Regions from separate parts of the Homo sapiens genome. Here region 1 is linked to region 2. Evidence: promoter capture Hi-C in 16 types of primary human blood cells and fetal thymus (Javierre and others, 2016). All regions are on one chromosome and are shown on one strand. The core of a region is centred on a gene start or on the middle of the fragment in contact, and the rest is flanking DNA. Distances in the headings are between cores, read along the strand shown.

Region 1 (3,435 bases), core at 703-3,202, 74 kb before region 2:
GGGGAACCCCAGGGAAGCCGTTCCCAGGTGGGCGGGGAGCGGGGGCTGGGAGGGGGAATGCAGAGCAAGTAACCCACCTACCCAACAGACAGGGGCGTGCTCTGAGTCCAAGCCCATTCACAGCACGTCTGCGAGGTGGGGGACACAAGGGGAGGCCATCTCCCCTCAAGGAGGCTGTCCAGGAGCCAAGGGTTTCGGACCCTCCCCTGGACAGGCCAGGACGAGCCTGCCTCCCTCCTCAGGGGAACAAGGCAGTGCCTGTCTTGAGGGAGGGCTTCTTTTTGGAAACCTCTCATTCAGGATGAACCCATTAAGAAGGCAGGCAGCTTCTGTTGTTTGAGGGTGTCAGGAGGGCAAGGGGGCACCCCAAAGGCTGGGCGGTATTTTCTCGAGGGACTCCCTAGGCAGAGGCTGGCCCTGCTGCTACCCAGGAGGAGTCCCTGTATCGCTTCCACAGCAGCTGATGGGCAACCAGGCCCCTCTGAGAAGACCACTCCAAAAGAGGGCATATGCCATGTACTGAGCTCAGGGGGTTGGGGGAGACTCTCCGGTGGGGCGTTGGCCAGGACAATCACAGTAGCTGCCTCACAGGATCCAGAGGGCAGAGGACAGAGGACAGGTCCCATTTGTTATGGGCCTATATTCAGGTATTTATGGTAGGGAGGAAGCCAGACCGGGGGGCCCAGAAGCCTCTTCCAGAAGGAAGGGCAGGGGGGCACGATGGAGCAAGGCTTTCTTCCACCAGGAAAGTATTTATTCCCAGCGGCACTGGCTGAACTCTATCTGTGCTTGGGAATTCCCAGCCCAGGGACATGGACAGTCTCGGGCTCAGACCCTGGAGCTAGATCAGGGTATTCTGGGAAATATAGTCCTTTGGGAGTTAGAAGGCCCTGCCAGGATTGGGGGCGGGGGAGGCAGATTGAGTTAAGAAACAGCCAAGGAAGAGGAGGGAGTAAAGGGAGTTACCCTTACTCCAACCCCAGGGTGGATGTTTAAAACTCCTGGGAAGTGGCTATATATAAACATCTGCTGCCTCAAAAGACACCAGAGGCCGGGCACGGTGGCTCACACCTGTAATCCTAGCACTTTGGGAGGCCAAGGTGGGCAGATTGCTTGAGCTCAGGAGCTCAAGACCAGCATGGGAAACATGGTGAAACCCCGTCTCTACTAAAAATACAAAAAATTAGGGCGTGGTGGTACATGCCTGTAATCCCAGCTACTTGGGAGACTGAGGCACGACAATGGCTTGAACCAGGGAGGCAGAGGTTGCAGTGAGGCAGTGAGCCAAGATTGTGCCACTGCACTCCAGCCTGGCAGACAGAGCCAGACTGTCTCAAAAAACAAAAACAAAACAAAAACAAAAACAAAACACACCAGACGATGCTACTATTCTAGCTTCAGATCATATCCACAGTGGCTTTTCTGGTCAAGTAGTTCTGGGGACTCTTATTTTCGTGGGGAGACCTAAAAAGTCCGCAGAGAGGAGGCACCCCAACCAAACCACCCAGGATGAAAGCAGCATTCAGTGATTCCCCACGACTGTTCTCCGGTCCCTGCCTCCAGACACACAGAGAGAAGGAGAACAAAGGTGCCCGCCAGGGGACAGAGGTGCTACCTGCCACGCCTCAGCCTCCAGGAGAGACTGCAGCTGTCCCAAGCGCTCGCACATTATTTATGCTCACAGCCAGCTCTGATGACATATGTAAGTTGACAGCGAACATCCTATCAACTTGCTGGAGTGTATCCTGATTGTTAAAACACTCTTAAAGGTGTACAATCATTTATCAAATTAAAATAGCCGTGCCTTGCCAGTTCTTTTTCTGCCTTCCTGGATGGAACCCCCAATAGTCTCCATCCTCCTCCAGCCTCCTGGGTAATCTGCCCTTGCACCCAGGCCCTGCTTCTCAGGGGACAATGACCCTGCTGCCAGGAGCCCCAGCCTCGGCATCCCCTCCCCACTCTGGCCCAGGCCAGGGCAAGACCACTAATCGCCAAGAAGTGACAAACGCCAGAAGCCCCACCAATTAAATTTAAACTCATGCAAAGCTCAGTGGCTAGTAAATTATTATTTTTATTAGCTTGAACCAAGTTCCCGTAAGAGAGAAAGTCAACTTGCTCCCATGAATGGCTCTTGTATAATTTATTTAACTCTGTGCTCTTTGCCAAAGCCTGGAATATTTTTAGCTCGTTCTGTTGTTGGATTTGGCTTTTTTATGTGTGTTTCTGAGGGGTATTTTTAGCCTCATCCATGTTATTCTAACAGCCTCCTATGCATTTTGTCCTGTCTGTGGGGGCTGTTGAACCCTGTCTCACAGGGAGATGAGAGAAGATTTCTAAGAATAACCGGGGAACGTTTGGGGGGACGCGCGTTTTCCAGGGGAGATGTGCTATTTGCACAACGCCGTTCTCTGCCTGGCTCACTAATTTGCCTTATTACTCACGTGACCTGGATATTCCTACAGAAAGCGCGGCGGCTCCGTACCGGGATAATCAGACGTGGTGGCAGCACGAGCCCCACTGGGGGAAACCCACATTCCAAACAGGGCTTCGGCGGGGCGGGCGTGGCGGGCCACCGCCGCCGGTCCACGCGGCCCCACATTCCCGGATTCCCGTAGCTCCTTTGGGCTCGCGGCAACTTTGATGTCTAACTCTGTCACTTATGGAGCGGGACGGGTGACGTCTTCGGAAAGTAACTCTTTTCACACCTACTTAATGTTGCTAACTGTTGCAGAAACACTCCATCGTGTCATGGAGTTAATGAGGTATTTAAGAAAATGTATTTTTTTCTTTACAAAAAAATATCACATGATGAGGGAGAGGAGCCTGTGATGGGGTCTTTTCACACTAGGAAATTATCTTTTTTTTTCCTCTGCCAAGTTGGGGGTATTTTTTGGTTGTGTTTTTTGGTATTTTCTTTTTCTTTTTTTTTTTTTGAGATTGGCGGTAGGAAGCACTTTTTCAGCAGGAAAGAAGTAGTTTGCAGTTCTCCCACCAGAAGGAGCCTTCGCCTTTCTCCCACAATAACCCCAGGCTCAGAGCACCTGGTTTCCCAGGCTTCAGCAATTTACACCCCAAAGAAGACAAGAGAAGGGGCGGGAGGGGAATCTGAGCAGATTATTGAAACCAAGATGAGAAATAGTGCCTTGGTGGAGCCCTGGCCCCTGGAGAGGGGAGGCGTACAGACCAGGACAGGAGCGGGCCCAGCCAGAAGCCAGGACGGGGGGCTGTCTATGTGGGCCTCTCCCCAGGCCGGGGCTGCCTCGGATCACACACACACTCCCAGCAGAGGCGCCAGCCCCAGTGGCTCCAGGCAGTAGCACTGATGAAAAATCTTGGGTTGGTTCTTGTTGATTTCTCTTTTCTCCCCCCTAGATTTCACAGCTTTGCCTCCGGACCATCTGTATTAGAGACAAAATCTAACACTGAACTAAAAAT
Region 2 (3,705 bases), core at 980-3,479:
AGATTCAGCAGTTTTACATAAAGGGGGAGCAAGAAGTAAGAGAGGAAGCCAAGGTGACACAATATTTTTTAAAAGGGCTTCTGGGTACAAATCAGTGTACGTACAGAAATACATTTTATTTGTGCAGATGTGCAGAGACACTTTCGGCTGGCATGGTGGTTCATGCCTGTAATTCTAGCACTTTGGGAAGCCAGGGCAGGAGGATTGCTTGAGCCCAGGCTGGACAACATAGTGAGACCCCATCTCTGCAAAAAACACAAAAATTAGCCAGGCGTGGTGGTGTGTGCCTGTAGACCCAGCTACTTGGGAAGCCGAGGATCGCTTGAGTCCAGGAGGTCGAAGCTGCAGTGAGCCTTATTCTCACCACTGCCCTGCAGCCTGGGCAACAGAGCAAGACTCTCTCAAATCAATCAATCAATAAATTTGACTGCAGGTGCCAGAAGTGGACTCTGACTAACTGAAGCCGGGAGCAGGTATTTGGTTGGAGCTTGCAGCAGGGAGGGCAGGGGGAAGGCGCTGTTCAGGCCCCAACAGCAGCGGCTCGGGAGTGGCCCCAGCACAAGCCCAGTGTCCCTCGGCTCAGCATTCAAATTCCAGGAAAAGAGTCCCGATGGTCCGGCTTGGTCTAGGGCTGTGGCCCGTGGCAGGTCCCCAAAACCACACCTGCCGCTCCAGTGCCCCCCAAGGCTGCATGACCTTCGTGTGGACAGGATCATGGAACACATGACCTCACCCAAGCCTCCCAACCATGCCGTGATCCAGCACTGTTAGAATCATCCCCGTTTCACAGAGCAGAGTTGAAGTGTTGGGTGTTTAAACGCTGTGCCCAGGGCTGTCCAGCCAGGGAGTGGAATCTGGTCCTGGCCCAGAAGGCAGCAGCCCCACCCAGGCCACCTGCTCCAGGTCCCCGGGCTCCACAGACTTTCACATCTACTGCAGAGGCGCAAGGACGTTCCCCAGCATCAAAGCCCTCAGACCCTGGTGCCAGCCACGTCGTCACAGAACTTGTAGACCAGAGGATGCCCTGCGGATAGAGGGCCTGCCCTGGGCCTGCGCCAGGCTGGGCATATTGCTGAGGTCCCTGCTCTGTGCTGGCAAAATCCAGACCTCAGGAGAGGGGCAGGCAGGCTCTGAGAGGTTGCGGCTGCCCAGGGCCTGCAGCTGGGAGGAGCGGAGACAGACCCCCCCTCCCCTGGGACACAGTTGCTCTGCACCACACAGCTCCGCTCCTGGCGTCCCCTGGCTTTGCCGGGGGCGGCCGACCCAGCTGGCCAGGCCCCCTCCCCCTGCCCCACAGGTGGCCCTGAGCTGCTGAGGATAAGGCATGCTGGGCGATCTCTGCTGATTAGAGTCGCCCTCCGCTGTGGGCTAGGGGCCCCTATTTTGCTCCTGAGATCCCAGTCGGCCCATAGAAGCCCTCACAGGCTCTCCCGGGGGTCCAAGGAGTCCCAGGAGGCCCCCGTTCACCCCGGGTTTGCCTTCTCCCTCCTGTAATTTGCTTTTCATATGCGTGAAGGGGAACTCAGCAGGAGCAGAAGATGATGTGGCCTCGTGGGAGCGTGGGAGAGCTGGGACGGGGTGGTGGGGAGGAGCGGGGACCCAGGGACAGGGGCTCTGGGTCCAACCACCAGGCCTTTTGCACTTCGTGCTCTCTGTAGCCTCAGCTTCCCCCGAGGGTCAGGAACTCCAGGCAGGGGCATGGGGCAGCTCAGAAACCTTCCTGAGCCCCTTCCCCTGGCAAGAGGCAAACCAAGCAGGTGAGGGCTGGGCCCTGTTCTCAGAGCTGGCATCCCAGCCCTGGCCAGATCCAGGCTGAGGGCGGCCCAGCCCCCTGTTCTGCCTGGTGCAGAGGACACGGCTTCCCTGGCCGGAGCCCCCGCCCCCTCCTCTCCTTTCTTGGCGTCTGCCCCTGGGCGTGCCCTACCATTAAGCCCTTGTTGGTTCCACAAGCTGGGGGCACCCCTTCCTCCCTTCCTCCGGGCAGCCATTGGCAATGGCTGGCGGCTCGGGACAGGGCCCGTATTCTCTGAAAATGATGGCTGGGCTGGAACCCGGGATCGATTCTCAGACCTGCGTCATGTGGAGTCCCGGATGCTTGTTACGAATTCGGACCCTGGCCTGTGCCTGCTCCCTGGTACCTCTGAACAGGGCTTTCTGCCCTGGGGGTGTGAAGAGGGCCAAGTCCACTCCCCGACTGGGGTCACGCCTGCCTCCTGTCAGGACTGTGAACACTGCGTCCCCATCAGCTCAAAGAATACGCATGGGGACAAGCCTGGGGGGCCGTCTGAGAGTCCCCCAACCCTGGATCCCCACGGCAGCCCCCACTGTTGGGTTTTTCAGTGGCTGGTGTGCCCTGGGCTGGTCACCTCTGCATTTTGCTCTGCTGGGAGTTTGCTCCTGGCCCTCCAACAGCGCCTCCTCTGTGAGGAGGAACTCCTGTTCCCGTGGCTCTGCTGGCTCTGGAGGCTGGAGTTCCCGTGCTGGGCCCTCCTGGGCGGGTTCTCTCTTGCTGCCGCCAGTACCCTGCCCCTCTCGTCCTCCTGGGTAGCCTGGGAGGAATGGCAGAAGAAAGCAGTGAAGCCAGGTAGCAGTAGCCCGGCCACCCCACCAGGCTCTGCTGTAGGCTGGGCTCTCAAGGCAGCTGCTCCAGGAGGGGCCCCCTAGGAAGGGACTGCCACACTCCTGGGAGCGTTCCTGGCCCCCTCCAGTGCAAATGACCCTGGGCCCCAAGGCTCCGAACACCCGCCCCTCTGCTCCAGGTAAGAGGGAGATGTGGGTGGTGCCTGGACTGTTGTGTGCTTAGGTGGGGGAGTGGAGCCTTCAGGTCTCAGGAACCCACAAATGCTTGTTGAGCTGATGAACCCTGCAGAGATGAGAAGCTTAGGCCCAGAGAGCTGATGCCACCTGCCTGGGGCCACAAAGTCCACTGGGCAGAGGAGGGTGGGAACCCCAGTCCTTGGCCCCACTGTCAAAGCGGGTGCTTCCCAGGGAGAGCAGAGCCTGGGGTCAGTGCGGAGGACACTGGATCCCCAGTTCCGGGCTGGGGAGAGGCAGCTGGTGTTTCAGTGCTGCAGAGAGGGCCAGGCCGGCCTCAGACACCCTCCCCGAGGCCTGTGTGGGGGTGGAGGGCGGCCACACCTGTCCCACTGCAGGCCCTGGGGTGGGGTTTCCTGTCTGTGCTGGAGCCCGGTCAGGTTTCTCACTTCGCCCGGGGCAGGGGTGCAGGGCAGATGGCCCAGCCAGTCATGAGTCACCAGCCCAGCCTGCCGGCCTGCCTGACAAACGGGAAAGACCCGGCGGGTAGGAGCTGGGCTGGGAGCATCCTAGCTGGGCCTGGGCCAGCCCCTTCCTGGGAGAGGAGGGAAGCTGCCTCAGGCCTCCGGGGAGAAGCTCCCACCTGGCCCGGACCCTCCTCCCTCCTCCCTCCTCTGGCGGGGTGAGTGGGCTGAGGGCCTGCTGGGCCCCTGCATGGTGGGAAAGTTTGGGGAGGGGAGGGGTTTCCAAGCCTCAGCCGTCCAGGCCTACGCATCCCAGATCTCGCTCGCTCCACAGCGCTGTGCCATGTCATGGGCTTCTTTTTTCCTGGTCCGAAGTGTTAGTATCTGCGAAATTGCAGGCTTGATGTGTTGGCTTTATTTTTCTAACACACACTAAAATAAATCATGCGTGTTTTACAGTGTGTTGGGGCCATCTGTGGGTCACGGA

What was found. The method cuts DNA at HindIII sites, captures the fragments that hold promoters and counts their contacts. A CHiCAGO score of 5 or more calls a contact.
Region 1: a fragment that was not itself captured here is called in contact with the fragment with the promoter of TMEM105 in region 2 in 1 of 17 cell types (monocytes); the score reaches 5.6 in monocytes.

The regions. Positions count from the first base shown.
Region 1 is chr17:81,402,980-81,406,414 of GRCh38, reverse strand. The region is part of intron 2 of BAHCC1 (BAH domain and coiled-coil containing 1); the gene reads right to left. Among named protein-coding and RNA genes, the nearest start is that of MIR4740, 3.9 kb to the right of the region's middle. RefSeq lists an enhancer at 273-827. The HindIII fragment of the contact is 5,924 bases long and covers 1-3,435 here.
Region 2 is chr17:81,329,198-81,332,902 of GRCh38, reverse strand. It overlaps TMEM105 (TMEM105 long non-coding RNA), which reads left to right and starts at 2,229. Exons shown (of 3, transcript NR_165247.1): 1 at 2,229-2,759. RefSeq lists enhancers at 462-1,032, 1,033-1,603, 2,747-3,316, 3,317-3,705. The HindIII fragment of the contact is 4,997 bases long and covers 1-2,881 here.